Regions from separate parts of the Homo sapiens genome. Here all the other regions are linked to region 2. The links are contacts of gene promoters, found by promoter capture Hi-C in human tissues and cell types (Jung and others, 2019). All regions are on one chromosome and are shown on one strand. The core of a region is centred on a gene start or on the middle of the fragment in contact, and the rest is flanking DNA. Distances in the headings are between cores, read along the strand shown. Region 1 overlaps CELSR1 (cadherin EGF LAG seven-pass G-type receptor 1). Region 2 holds the start of TRMU (tRNA mitochondrial 2-thiouridylase). Region 3 overlaps PPARA (peroxisome proliferator activated receptor alpha). Region 4 has its middle 18 kb from the start of LINC02925.

What was found. The method cuts DNA at HindIII sites, captures the fragments that hold promoters and counts their contacts. A contact is called where the count stands out against the background at its distance.
Region 1: a fragment that was not itself captured here is called in contact with the fragment with the promoter of TRMU in region 2 in 2 of the 25 tissues and cell types used here (IMR-90 fibroblasts and mesendoderm cells).
Region 3: a fragment that was not itself captured here is called in contact with the fragment with the promoter of TRMU in region 2 in 1 of the 25 tissues and cell types used here (mesendoderm cells).
Region 4: a fragment that was not itself captured here is called in contact with the fragment with the promoter of TRMU in region 2 in 3 of the 25 tissues and cell types used here (dorsolateral prefrontal cortex, lymphoblastoid cells and mesendoderm cells).

Annotation. Positions count from the first base shown.
Region 1 is chr22:46,500,312-46,503,011 of GRCh38, forward strand. All of the region lies in intron 1 of CELSR1 (cadherin EGF LAG seven-pass G-type receptor 1), which reads right to left. Among named protein-coding and RNA genes, the nearest start is that of CELSR1, 36 kb to the right of the region's middle. RefSeq lists an enhancer at 33-1,007. The HindIII fragment of the contact is 7,187 bases long and covers 1-2,700 here.
Region 2 is chr22:46,334,324-46,337,023 of GRCh38, forward strand. It overlaps TRMU (tRNA mitochondrial 2-thiouridylase), which reads left to right and starts at 1,391. Exons shown (of 11, transcript NM_018006.5): 1 at 1,391-1,523. The coding sequence starts at 1,442. RefSeq lists enhancers at 1,429-1,648, 1,481-1,980 and a silencer at 1,789-1,838. The HindIII fragment of the contact is 7,028 bases long and covers 1-2,700 here.
Region 3 is chr22:46,172,363-46,175,334 of GRCh38, forward strand. The region is part of intron 2 of PPARA (peroxisome proliferator activated receptor alpha); the gene reads left to right. Among named protein-coding and RNA genes, the nearest start is that of PPARA, 23 kb to the left of the region's middle. The HindIII fragment of the contact is 6,276 bases long and covers 1-2,972 here.
Region 4 is chr22:46,558,429-46,561,315 of GRCh38, forward strand. No RefSeq gene overlaps it. Among named protein-coding and RNA genes, the nearest start is that of LINC02925, 18 kb to the left of the region's middle. The HindIII fragment of the contact is 5,201 bases long and covers 1-2,887 here.

The DNA of each region.
Region 1 (2,700 bases), core at 11-2,510, 170 kb after region 2:
TAACTGCCTGCTGGAGATGACCTTTTATATGGAGCCGCTGACAGCCCCCTCCCCCATGGCGCAGAGATCACATTTACAGCGGTGGCGGTAACCATGGAAACTGGCAGTCGGTGCAGGAGGGCGAACGGTTGATGGGCAACCATGGGGACAATGGCAAGGCTCTGGGCTTATTCAGATGACTGGGGTGTGCTGAATGGGCTCTGAGCACAAAGGCCACTGGGAGCTCTGGGAGCTTCCAAAGGGGGCGTCAATGACACCCATAACTTGTCACAGAAGAACAGAGGCCCGAGCTAGCCCACACCTGTGTTTTTTGATCTCTGGGGGAGTTTACAACAATGACTCTGCAGGCCTTTTGTCAGATGCCATTTTTCTTACTTTATTATAATTATCTGGTCTGTTTTCTGGGTGACCTGGGAGCCTTTGACTGCAGTTTCAGAATGAAGCTCACCACCGTGTCCCCACAACTGGAGCTGCCCGGGAGGCCAGCAGCAGGTCAGGCCACTACATTGCGTCTCTCAGGCTCAGAACATCCCCCATCTGCGGGCAGAGCTGTCCTTGTAAGCACGCCCATGATGGGACCCGAAAATCAGCCCATTTACATGCCAAGTGCTGAGAACCCTGTTTCTAACACCCCTCCAGAGACCCAAAGATCTGAAATGTTAAGATGTTTCCACTAAGAAAAGTTTATTTATTTATTTATTTTATTTTATTTTTTATTTTATTTTATTTCATTTTTTATTGAGACAGAGTCTTGCTCTGTCACCCAGGCTAGAGTGCAATGGCATGATCTCAGCTCACCGCAACCTTCGCCTCCCGGGTTCAAGCAATTCTCCTGCCTCAGCCTCCCAGTAACTGGGCTTACAGGCACCCGCCATCATGCCCGGCTAATTTTTTTTTTTTTTTTTTTTTTTTTGAGACAGAGTCTCGCTCTGTTGCCCTGGCTGGAGTGCAGTGGTGTGATCTCGGCTCACTGTAACTTCCACCTCCCGATTCAAGCCATTCTCCTGCCTCAACCTCCAGAGTAGCTGGGATTACAGGCATGCACCACCACGCCGGGCTAATTTTTGTATTTTTAGTAGAGACGAGGTTTCACCATGTTGGCCAGGCTGGTCTCAAATTCCTGACCTCAGGTGATCCACCCGCCTCGACCTCCCAGAGTGCTGGTATTACAGGTGTGAGCCACCGCGCCCTGCCCCACTAAGAAAAGTTTTAAACAGACATTTAAATAAGCTAATAGGAGACCTTTTCGTGAAGTGGCATCTCATAGGAACCTACGGAAACACGCAAATATCCAGCCCTGAAAGCTGAAAACAAGCTGTGAGCCAAAACACTGTATGATGTGCTTTTTTTCCTTCAGTCAATGCAACAAAGATCTGAAATGTTATTTGTTTTTAAATGCCAAACATCACTCCCTTCAACACTGACATCTCAGATGAGCAATAGCAGAATGGATCTTTCCATGAACTCCAAGAGTAATTCCCCAAAAAGAATTCCCGAAGAGTTCCCCCGCTGGCACAGTCATGGGCTTCCTTGTCTTGAAGAGAAAACAAAGAAAAATCATCTGATCTGCACCCTCCAGGGAGTAATATGTGACTCACTTCATTCTGAAGGAGCAGAGGAAGCTCATTACATTTTTATAAACTACTCAGAAAACTGCCCTGTAGAAAACAGGGCTGGGCGTGGTGGTTCAGGCCTGTAACCCCAGCACCTTGGGAGGCCAAAGTAGGAGTATCCCTTGAGCCCAGGATTTTGAGACCAGTCCAGGCAATGTAGCAAGGCTCCATCTCCAGAAAAAATAAAGTAGCTGGGCACAGTGGCGCACAAGCCTGCAGTCCCAGCTACTCAGGAGGCTGAGGTGGGAGGATCACTTGAGCCCAGGAGGTCGGGGCTGCAGTGAGCTATGATTGTGCCACTGCACTCCAGCCTGGGTGACAGAGTGAGACCTCATCTCAAGAAAAGAAAGGGAAGGGAAGGGGAAGGGAGGGTGGGGAGGGGAGGAAGAGGGGAGGAAGAGGGGAGGGTAGGGAGGGGGAGAGGAGGTGGGGAAAGTTGGAGGAAAGGGGAAAGGGGAGGGAAGGGTAAAGTGGAAAGAAGAGGGAAGGGGAAAGGGGAGGGAAGGGGAGGGAAGGGTAAAGTGGAAAGAAGAGGGAAGGGGAAAGGGGAGGGAAGGGGAAGGAAAGGAGAAAGAGGAGGGAAGAGAGGGAGGGAAAGACGCAGAAAAGGAGGGAGGGAGAGAGGGACGTTATTGAGAAACTGGTGATCAAAGTCACTAGTGACAAAGCTGACTCTTCCGAAGCCCCAGTGGCATGGCCAATACTTTGCTTTGTGCTTTACAAATCCCTGTGAAATTGGTCTCACCACCCCACTGTCACATGGGGAAATCGAGATTCTCAGAAGCTGAGTGACAAACCTGAGGTCACCAGGCAAGTGACAGATGAACCCCATGATCATAGCCCCACACTCTCCTGACTCTCTCTAACTGTTCCCCCTTAACATTAACTATTAAACCACCGTGGCCAAAATCGGCAGCAAGGCGTTTTTAAAGAAGCATGCTCCGTAAGAGGTGGTACAGCCACTGCTGACCTTAACATAATTCCCGGGAGACAGCAAGCTGCACAAGAGTGTGCACCCCGGGAGCAGGTCCCCGCAGGCCACGGCACTCGGAGAGAAGATCAAAGGCTCGAGTTGGAAGTGCCCACT
Region 2 (2,700 bases), core at 141-2,640:
ACCCACATAGCTTATTGTGGCATGCATATTCCCATTGCAATGCCCTATTCACAAATGAACATCTTTTTCGTTCAGAGTCTCCCTGTGCTTTAGGTAGACCTTGTCTAGATGCTAACTCGTAGAGAAGAACTCAGCTTGAATATCACCCCTGGGGGATGACCTCCATTCTCTCCTCCTTCCTTTATTCAGCGAGGTTATGAAGCACCTGCCCTGGGCCAGGGGCTTTTCTGGGCATGGAGTAGGAGTGGACAGAACACAAAACCCCTGTCCAACACACCTCACAGACATTAAGGATTGAGTGCTGAGTATGCTTGGAGTCAAACTGTAAAAGATTTGAAGATATTTATTCATGTCATAGTCCCAGGAGATCCTGAGAACACGTGCTCAAACTGGTGGTGCTACAGCTTTTGGTTTCGTACGTTTTAGGGAGACATAAGCCATAAATCAATACATGTAAGATGTAACATTGGTTCCGGAAAGGTGGGACAACTCGAAGGTGGGGTGGGGCTTCCAGGTCATAGGTGGATTCAAAGATTTTCTGGGCCGGGGGCAGTGACTCACACCTGTAATCCCGCCACTTTGGGAGGCTGAGGTGGGCGGATCCCTTGAGGTCAGGAGTGAGAGACCAGCCTGGCAAATACGGTGAAACCCCGTCTCTACTAAAAATACAAAAATTAGCTGGGCTTGGTGGCGGGCGCCTGTAATCGCAGCTACTAGGGAGGCTGAGGCAGGAGAATCGCTTGAATCTTGGAGGTGAAGGTTGCAGTGAGCCGAGGTCGCGCCCACTACACTCCAGCCTGCGACAGAGCAAAACTCCATCTCAAAAAAATTTAATTAATTAAAAATTAAATTAAATTAAAATACTGTAAAATACTTCGATATCTTTCAGGGCCTGCCATCTGTCATGTCGGTATCCTATTGCTACGGAGAGTCCGCCTAGACAGTCTTAAGTCTGTTTTGACGTTAATGCTGGTCCGAATTCCAAAGGGAGGAGGAGGGTCTAGTGAGGCGGGTCCCACCCGGCCTTTCCCATCAGAGCCCGAACTCGCGGTTCAGGTTCCCTCTAGGACGCCCTTGGCCGAGAGGAGGCCTCCAATGGCTGGCTGGGGGGCTTAGAATTTTATTTTTGGTTTACAGCGCAGAAGAAGAGCAGTGAGGCCGGGGCGCGGGTGGGGAGGGCAAGGCGGCGGCTCAAAAAAAAAGCCAGCCCCTCGCGGCCCGACAGAGTCTCGGCGCCCCGCGGGTCGGTGGAGCCTCAGGGGTGAGCGCAGGCCGGAGACAGGGGAACCCGCCGCGGGACAGGGGAAGGCCGGACGGAACGCGGGTAAGCTGCCGCAGCTTCCGGCCGGGCCACTAGCGCGGACCCTACGGCCGGGGCGGGACTTCCGGCAAGGCGCGGAAGCGGCGGTAGCTGCAGCTGGCGAAGTTGGGCGACTGGCGGATGCAGGCCTTGCGGCACGTCGTGTGCGCCCTGTCCGGCGGCGTGGACAGCGCCGTGGCCGCGCTGCTGCTGAGGCGGAGAGGTGAGGCGTCCGAGGCTCCCGCCCCCCGCCGAGCGAATGTGTCCCCGGAAACCTGTCCCCGTCCGTCGTGGCGTTGTGCACGTCTCCTCCCTCCCTGGGCCGCTGGTTGCGCGCGGGTCGGCAGGAGGATACCCCGTCCTCTGACTTTGGTTCGGAGGCTCCTCGCCCTCCACCTGTGTAGTCGGAGGTGTGCGCGACTGCAGCTCCGACTACCTGGGAGCAGTTCCGCGCCCCTCTCCACCCACGCGCGCCCACCCACAGTGAGAAGCCGGCGGGCCGGGGTGGGGTGGGGAGGGAAGGGTTTCTCACGGATCTGCGGCGTCCACATTCACCTGTGAGACCGTGGACACTGGTGAGGGGAGCTGGGATCGCCGGGCCGGGGGCCTGACCTCTGCACACGCTGTGGCCGCCCGGTGGGAGGTCCTTGTCCTCCCCACTCAGCAGACTGGACAACTGCCGCGCGGCGGGTCTGCTTGTTCAGCGTCTCCTGTGTTCTCCGCTCGCTGGAGGACAAAGTTTTCTCCAGGAGCATTTGCATTTCTTCCGGCATCTAAACGGAGCCCCACGGGTGCTTAGCATTCCTCGGGCCCGGCGCTGAAATGAGCACTTGTTTAACTTCACCTGTGTGGCTCCCCGCGGGAGGCCTCATTCACAGAGTCACGTTTGTGGAGCTCTGCTTTGCGCCATCTTTGGCTCCTGACCTTGGGCAAGTGAATTAAGCCGTCCCCTGTAAAATTCGGCTAACACCTGCCTCACGGGGTGACTGGAGGGATTAGATGACATAGTACATACTGATGAGTACGTGCTCAGCACATACGAGGTACGCAGAAAACAGTAGTGGCTATTAGTTTATATTGTTAATAACCATAGCTATTATGGTAGGTACAGTAAGTGCCAAAGAGAAGGGTAGGCGGACCATAAGCAGAAATAGTTGTGAGGAAGGGAGAGTGGAGGAAAGCATCCTAGAGATGGAGGTGCTCAGCTGAGTCGAAAGAAGAGTAGGATGTCACTAAGCAGAGACTTGGAGGTGGAGGCGGCCCTCCCGGCACAGTCAGCAGTGCAAGCAGAATCACAGAGGCCTGCAAGTGTGGGCTGGTTCTGGCCAGATGGAGATGGAAGGAGAGGAGCCTGGAGCACGTTTAGCCCTGATTATGGAAGATGCTATACCAGGGGCTTT
Region 3 (2,972 bases), core at 292-2,791, 160 kb before region 2:
TCACGCCTGTAATCCCAGCATTTTGGGAGGCCGAGGTAGGTGGATCACCTGAAGTCAGGAGTTGGAGACCAGCCTAGCCAACATGGTGAAACTGAAAATGCAAAAATTAGCCAGGCATGGTGGCGTGTGACTATAGTTCCAGCTACTCAGGAGGCTGAGACAGGAGAATCACTTGAACCTGGGAGGTGGATGTTGCTGTGAGCTGAGATCGTGCCACTGCATTGCAGCCTCGGTGAGAGAGCAAGGCCCCATCTCAAAAAAGAAAAAAACAGACTTTCCGACCAAACGATCGACAAACCAGACTGTCCAAACAGCCATAAGCCGTAACTTTGTGCGGAGGTAAAAGACCGAGGTCACATCGGGACCTGTTGGATTCAAGGCATGTTGACAGCTGTTTCCAGGCTTCAGATAGAGCCTCCAGCTGGCAGGGTGGCCACAGGGCTTGTTGAGTAGGAAGCCTCGTTGCTTTGACAGGTTACTTGGCCCCATGAGGGACAATCCCATAGTCAGTTACCCAGAAACGTGACTGTCTCCTTGAAATCCTCAGCATGGGGTCTTATGAATAAACCCTTACTAGATTTCCTGTTCTGTCTTATTTTTATGCAGAGCTTTACTTTATAGCAGAAAATTCCATTTTTACCCTTAAATGGCTTGCTTCTGCTCCCTTAGTGTTCTTGTCACTTTAAGTTGCATTCATCTTTGTCCCTTTAGAAAAGGATTTGTCCTGCAACCAGCTCTTGCAGAAGGTACTTGGTTTATTGTTAACCGATGTTTGCTAAATGTTTGAATTATGTTGAGTTGCTTAAAGTCATGCTATCGGGTAGATGTTGTGGCTGTTCTTTTCACTCTCTTATTTGGGGATTTACAAAACAGTTATGTTTTTAGTTTTCTTTTATTTGTTGTGTTGAATAGGAATGTAGCTCTGGGAACCTCTAGTTCCAAATAAGAAAGCCTTGGACACATTTCCAGTTGGCAAGCTGGCAAAATGAAGGGCGTACAAGTTGTTAGAGAGGCTGGGAGCCTATTTAAGCACCCAGCTTCAGGATGGGACATGGGATATACCTCGAGTTAGAGGTTCTTATTAACTGTGGATTCTTCTATGCAGATATCTGTCACAATATAAGTTACTATAAGTCAGTACTAAGGCAGCTGCTACATTCTGTTTGCCAAGGGGAAGAAGAAAGCTTGGAAATGGTATTCCTTAAAAATGTCAGTATCATAAAAGACAAAGAAAAGCTGCGGAAATGTTTCAGATTAAAAGAGAGAAGACAATAAAATGTAATACCTGACTCTGAACAGCATCCAGTACTGAAGGAGGAAAAATGCTATCAAGGACATTATTGGGTCAATTAACAAAATTTGAATACGAATCATAGATTGAACTGTATCTGTTAAATTAACAGAAGCGAAGTGTTCTGTGGTGTGTAGGAGCACACTGCCATTCTTAGCAAACGTGTAGTTTAGTATTTAGGAGAAAGGGCCATGAGGCATGCAACTCACCCTCAAATACACACACACATACACATATATACATACATACCTATAAAGAAAGAAATTATGGGCTAGGTGCAGTGGCTCATGCCTGTAATCCCAGCACTTTGGGAGGCCGAGGTGGGTGGATTGTGAGGTCAGGAGATCGAGACCCTCTCTACTAAAATACAAAGAATTAGCTGGGCGTGGTGGTGCACGTCTGTAGTCCCAGCTACTCGGGAGGCTGAGGCAGGAGAATTGCTTGAACCCAGGAGGCAGAGGTTACAGTGAGCCGAGATTGCACCACTGCACTGCAGCCTGGCAACAGAGCAAGACTCTGTCTTGAAAGAAGGAAGAAAGAGAGAGAGAGAGAGAGAGAGAGAGAGGGAGAAAGAAAGAGAGAGAGAAAGAAAGAAAGAAGGAAGGAAGGAAGGAAGGAAGGAAATTATGATAAAGCAGATGGTTAAGTTGGTAACTACCAGTGAATATGGGTAAAGTTAGGATGTTCTTTACTCTGTTTTGGGGGTGCAACTTTTCTATAAGTGAAAGTACTTCCAAATAAAAAGTTAAAAGGCAAGCAAATAAATAAAAGAGACAGTTTCTATGTTATATATCCTAGCTATGTTTACCATGTCTGGATTCTGAAAGCTGCAGAGCAGAAAACCTGAAGAACAGATCACCTGTTCTTAAAATACCACTGTTGGCCAGACATAGTAACTCACTCCTGTAATCCCAGCACTTTGGGAAGCCGAGGTGGGAGGATCACCTGAGCTCAGGAGTTTGAGAACAGCCTGGGAAACATAGTGAGACCCTGTCTCTACAAAAATTTAAAAAATTATCCAGGCATCATGGTTCGTGCCTGTAGTCCTAGCTACTCAGGAGGCTGAGGTAGGAGGATTGCTTGAGCCTGGGAGTTCGAGGCTGCAGTGAACCATGATCACACTAAAGCACTCTAGCCTGGGCAACAGAGCAAGACCCTGTATCAAAAAAACAATCAAACAAAAAATCACTCCTAATTTTCCTCCCTTTTAGTACTTTTAAAAATTAACTTAAAACATTTTTTGGATAATTGTAGTTTTTTTTACTTTTTTTTTTTTGAGACAGAGTCTCATTCTGTCACCCAGGCTGGAGTGTACTGGTGCAATCTCAGGTGACTGCAACCTCTGTCTCCTGGATTCAAGTGATTCTCCTGCCTCAGCCTCCTGAGTAGCTGGGTTCATAGGCGTGCACCACACCTGGCTCGTTTTTATATTTTTAGTAGAGATGGGGTTTCACCTTGTTGGCCAGGCTGGTCTCAGATTCCTGACTTCAAGTGATCTGCCCGCCTTGGCCTCACGTGCAGTTTTAGGAAATAATACAGAGATCCCCAGCACTCTTTCCAGTTTTCCCCAAGGGTAACATCTTGCAAAGTGAGAGGACGATATCACAGTCAGGATACTGACATTGATACCATCAAGATACATAATGTTTCCATCACCAATCAGTGGTCATGGTGCCTTTTA
Region 4 (2,887 bases), core at 349-2,848, 220 kb after region 2:
CGGGTCTCTGTGCCCTGTGCCTGTGTCACTACCAGCCCAGGCTCCCATGCCCAGCTTAAATGCCCTCTCCTCCAAGAACCCTTCCCTGATCACCCAAGGCATAAATGTTCCATCCTGCCTCTAACAACCCTTTGAACCAGGACCCCAAGCTGCCGTGGGAGGTGGTTACTTGTAGGTATGTTGTATTTTCCTTTGGTTCATCTCTGTCTACTCAGGGCCTAGTGAGGACCTGGCAAGAACACCTGATAGGGTAAGTCCTAGCCAGAGAAATCAGGCCAGAGAAAGAAAGAAAGGGCATCCAAATTGGAAAAGAGGAAGTCAAACTATATCTGTTTGCCAACGATACGATCTTATACCTAGAAAACGCCAAAGATTACTCCAAAAGACTCCTAGATTTGATAAATAAATTAAGTAAAGTCTCAAGTTACAAAATCAATGTACACAAATCAGTAGCATTGCCATACTCCAGCAATGATCAAGCTGACAATCACAAGAACTCAATCCCTTTTTTTTTTTTTTTACCTTTGAGATGGAGTCTCGCTCTTGTTGCCCAGGCTGGAGTGCAATGGCGCGATCTCGGCTCACTGCAACCTCTGCCTCCCAGGTTCAGCAGTTCTCCTGCCTCTGCCTCCTGAGTAGCTCGGATTACAGGCACCCGCCACCATGCCTGGCTAATTTTTGTATTTTTAGTAGAGATGGAGTTTCACCAGGTTGGTCCACGCCTGTAATCCCAGCACTTTGGGAGGCTGGGGCGGATGGATCACCTGAGGTCAGGAGTTTGAACTCAATCCCTTTTACAGTACCTAGACACAAAAAATAAAATGCTTAGGAATATACTTAACCAAGGAGGTGAGCGATCTCTACAAAGAGAACTATAAAACACTGCTGAAAGAAATCATAGATGACAAAAACACATGGCAATACATCCCATGTTCGTGGACTAGAACAATCAATATTGTGAAAGTAACCATACTGCCCAAAGCAATCTACAGAGTCACTGCAATTCCAACCAAAATACCAACATCATTCTTCACAGAATTAGAAAAAACAACCTTAAAATTCATATGGCATCAAAAAAGAACCTGAATAGCCAAAGCAATCCCAAGCAAAAAACAAATCTGGAGGCATCACCTTACCCAACTTCAAATTATACTATAAGGATGTAGTAATCAAGACAGTATCAAGGAAGTGTCTACTGGTACCAAGCACTGTATCAAGGTAGATATATAGACCAATAGAACAGAATAGAGAATCCAGAAATAAAGCCACTTACAGCCAACTGATCTTCCACAAAGTATGCAAAAACATAAACTGGGGAAATGACATTCTATTCAATAAATGGTGCTGGGAAAATTGGATAGCCACATGTGGAAGAATGGAGCTGGATCCCTCTTTCTCACCATATACAAAAATTAACTCACAATGGGTTAAATACTTAAACCTAAGTCCTGAAATCATAAAAATTCTAGAAGGAACCCTAGGAAAAACTCTTATGGACATTGGCCTAGGCTAAATATTTATAACGAAGGCTCCAAAGGCAAATGCAACAAAAACAAAAATAAACAGGACCTACTTAAACTAGAAAGCTTCTACACAGCAGAAGAAATAATCATGAAAGTAAACAGACAACTTAGAGAATGGGAGAAAATGTTTGCAAACTATGCATCTGACAAAGGACTAATACGCAGAATCTACAAGGGACTCAAATCAGCAAGAAAAAAAAATAATAATTCTGGCTGGGCGCAGTGGCTCATACCTGTAACCCCAGCACTTTGGGAGGGCAAGGCGTGCGGATGACTTGAGGTCAGGAGTTCGAGATCAGCCTGGCCAACATGGTGAAACCCTATCTCTACCAAAAATATAAAAAATTAGCTGGGTGTGGTGGCAGGGCCTGTAATCCCAGCTACTCAGTAGGCTGAGGCATGACACTCAACTTGAATCCAGGAGGCAGAGATTGCAGTGAGCCGAGATTGTACCACTGCACTCCAGCCTGGGTGACAGAGTGAGACTCTATCTAAAAAAATTAATAAAATAAAATAAAAATAATAAATACTTTATAAACATTAATTTACTGACTCTTCTTAATGACCTTGATGTTATATTCTGTTTGATCCCTATTAACAGACAAGGAAACTCGGGCACAGAGAGGCTAGGTTACTCATTCAGAGTCACACAGCCAGTGTGCAGCAGAGCCAGAAGTAAAGCCCAGGGAGTCCCACTCCAGTCTGTGCTCTTAACCCTGGGCCATGACATGTCATCACCCTAGGTGTGCAGTGAGGGGACTGGGGCCTAGGAAGGGGAAGGGACTCATACCTGAAGCCACACAACCAGGGTCCAGCCCTAGGCAGGCTCTTTCTCCACAGAGACAGAGCCGGTTTGGGCCCCTCCTCTCTTCTCTTGGTGACAGTTTTGCCCATGGGCATCCTGCGGGCAAAGGGGAGGCTGAGTTTCTGGTTTGTGGGTGTGTTTCAGGAAGTGCAGCTTGATGGGGTCAGTCTTTGTGTGCAGGGAGAGGAGCTGGGTGGAGGCTGGCTGGATGACTGGGCCTAGGCCTCCGGACAACGGAAAGGAGCAGAGAAGACGAGGGATGCGTCCCGGCACTGGTATTGTGGAGAGAGACCCCAACCCCCAGGAGGGTGAGGAAGGGGCTGTTGGTTCCCCCGCTGGTGAGCAAGGGCTGGCTGTGGGAGGGGCTCCAGGAGCGGAGGGGAACTGTTAAAGATTCAGACCCAGCTGGGCGCGGTGGCTCACGCTTGTAATCCCAGCATTTTGAGAGGCTGAGGTGGGCGAATCACCTGAGGTCAGGAGTTCAGACCAGCCTGCCCAATATGGAGAAACCCCGTCTCTGCTAAAAAATACAAAAATTAGCCAGGCGTGATGGTGCACA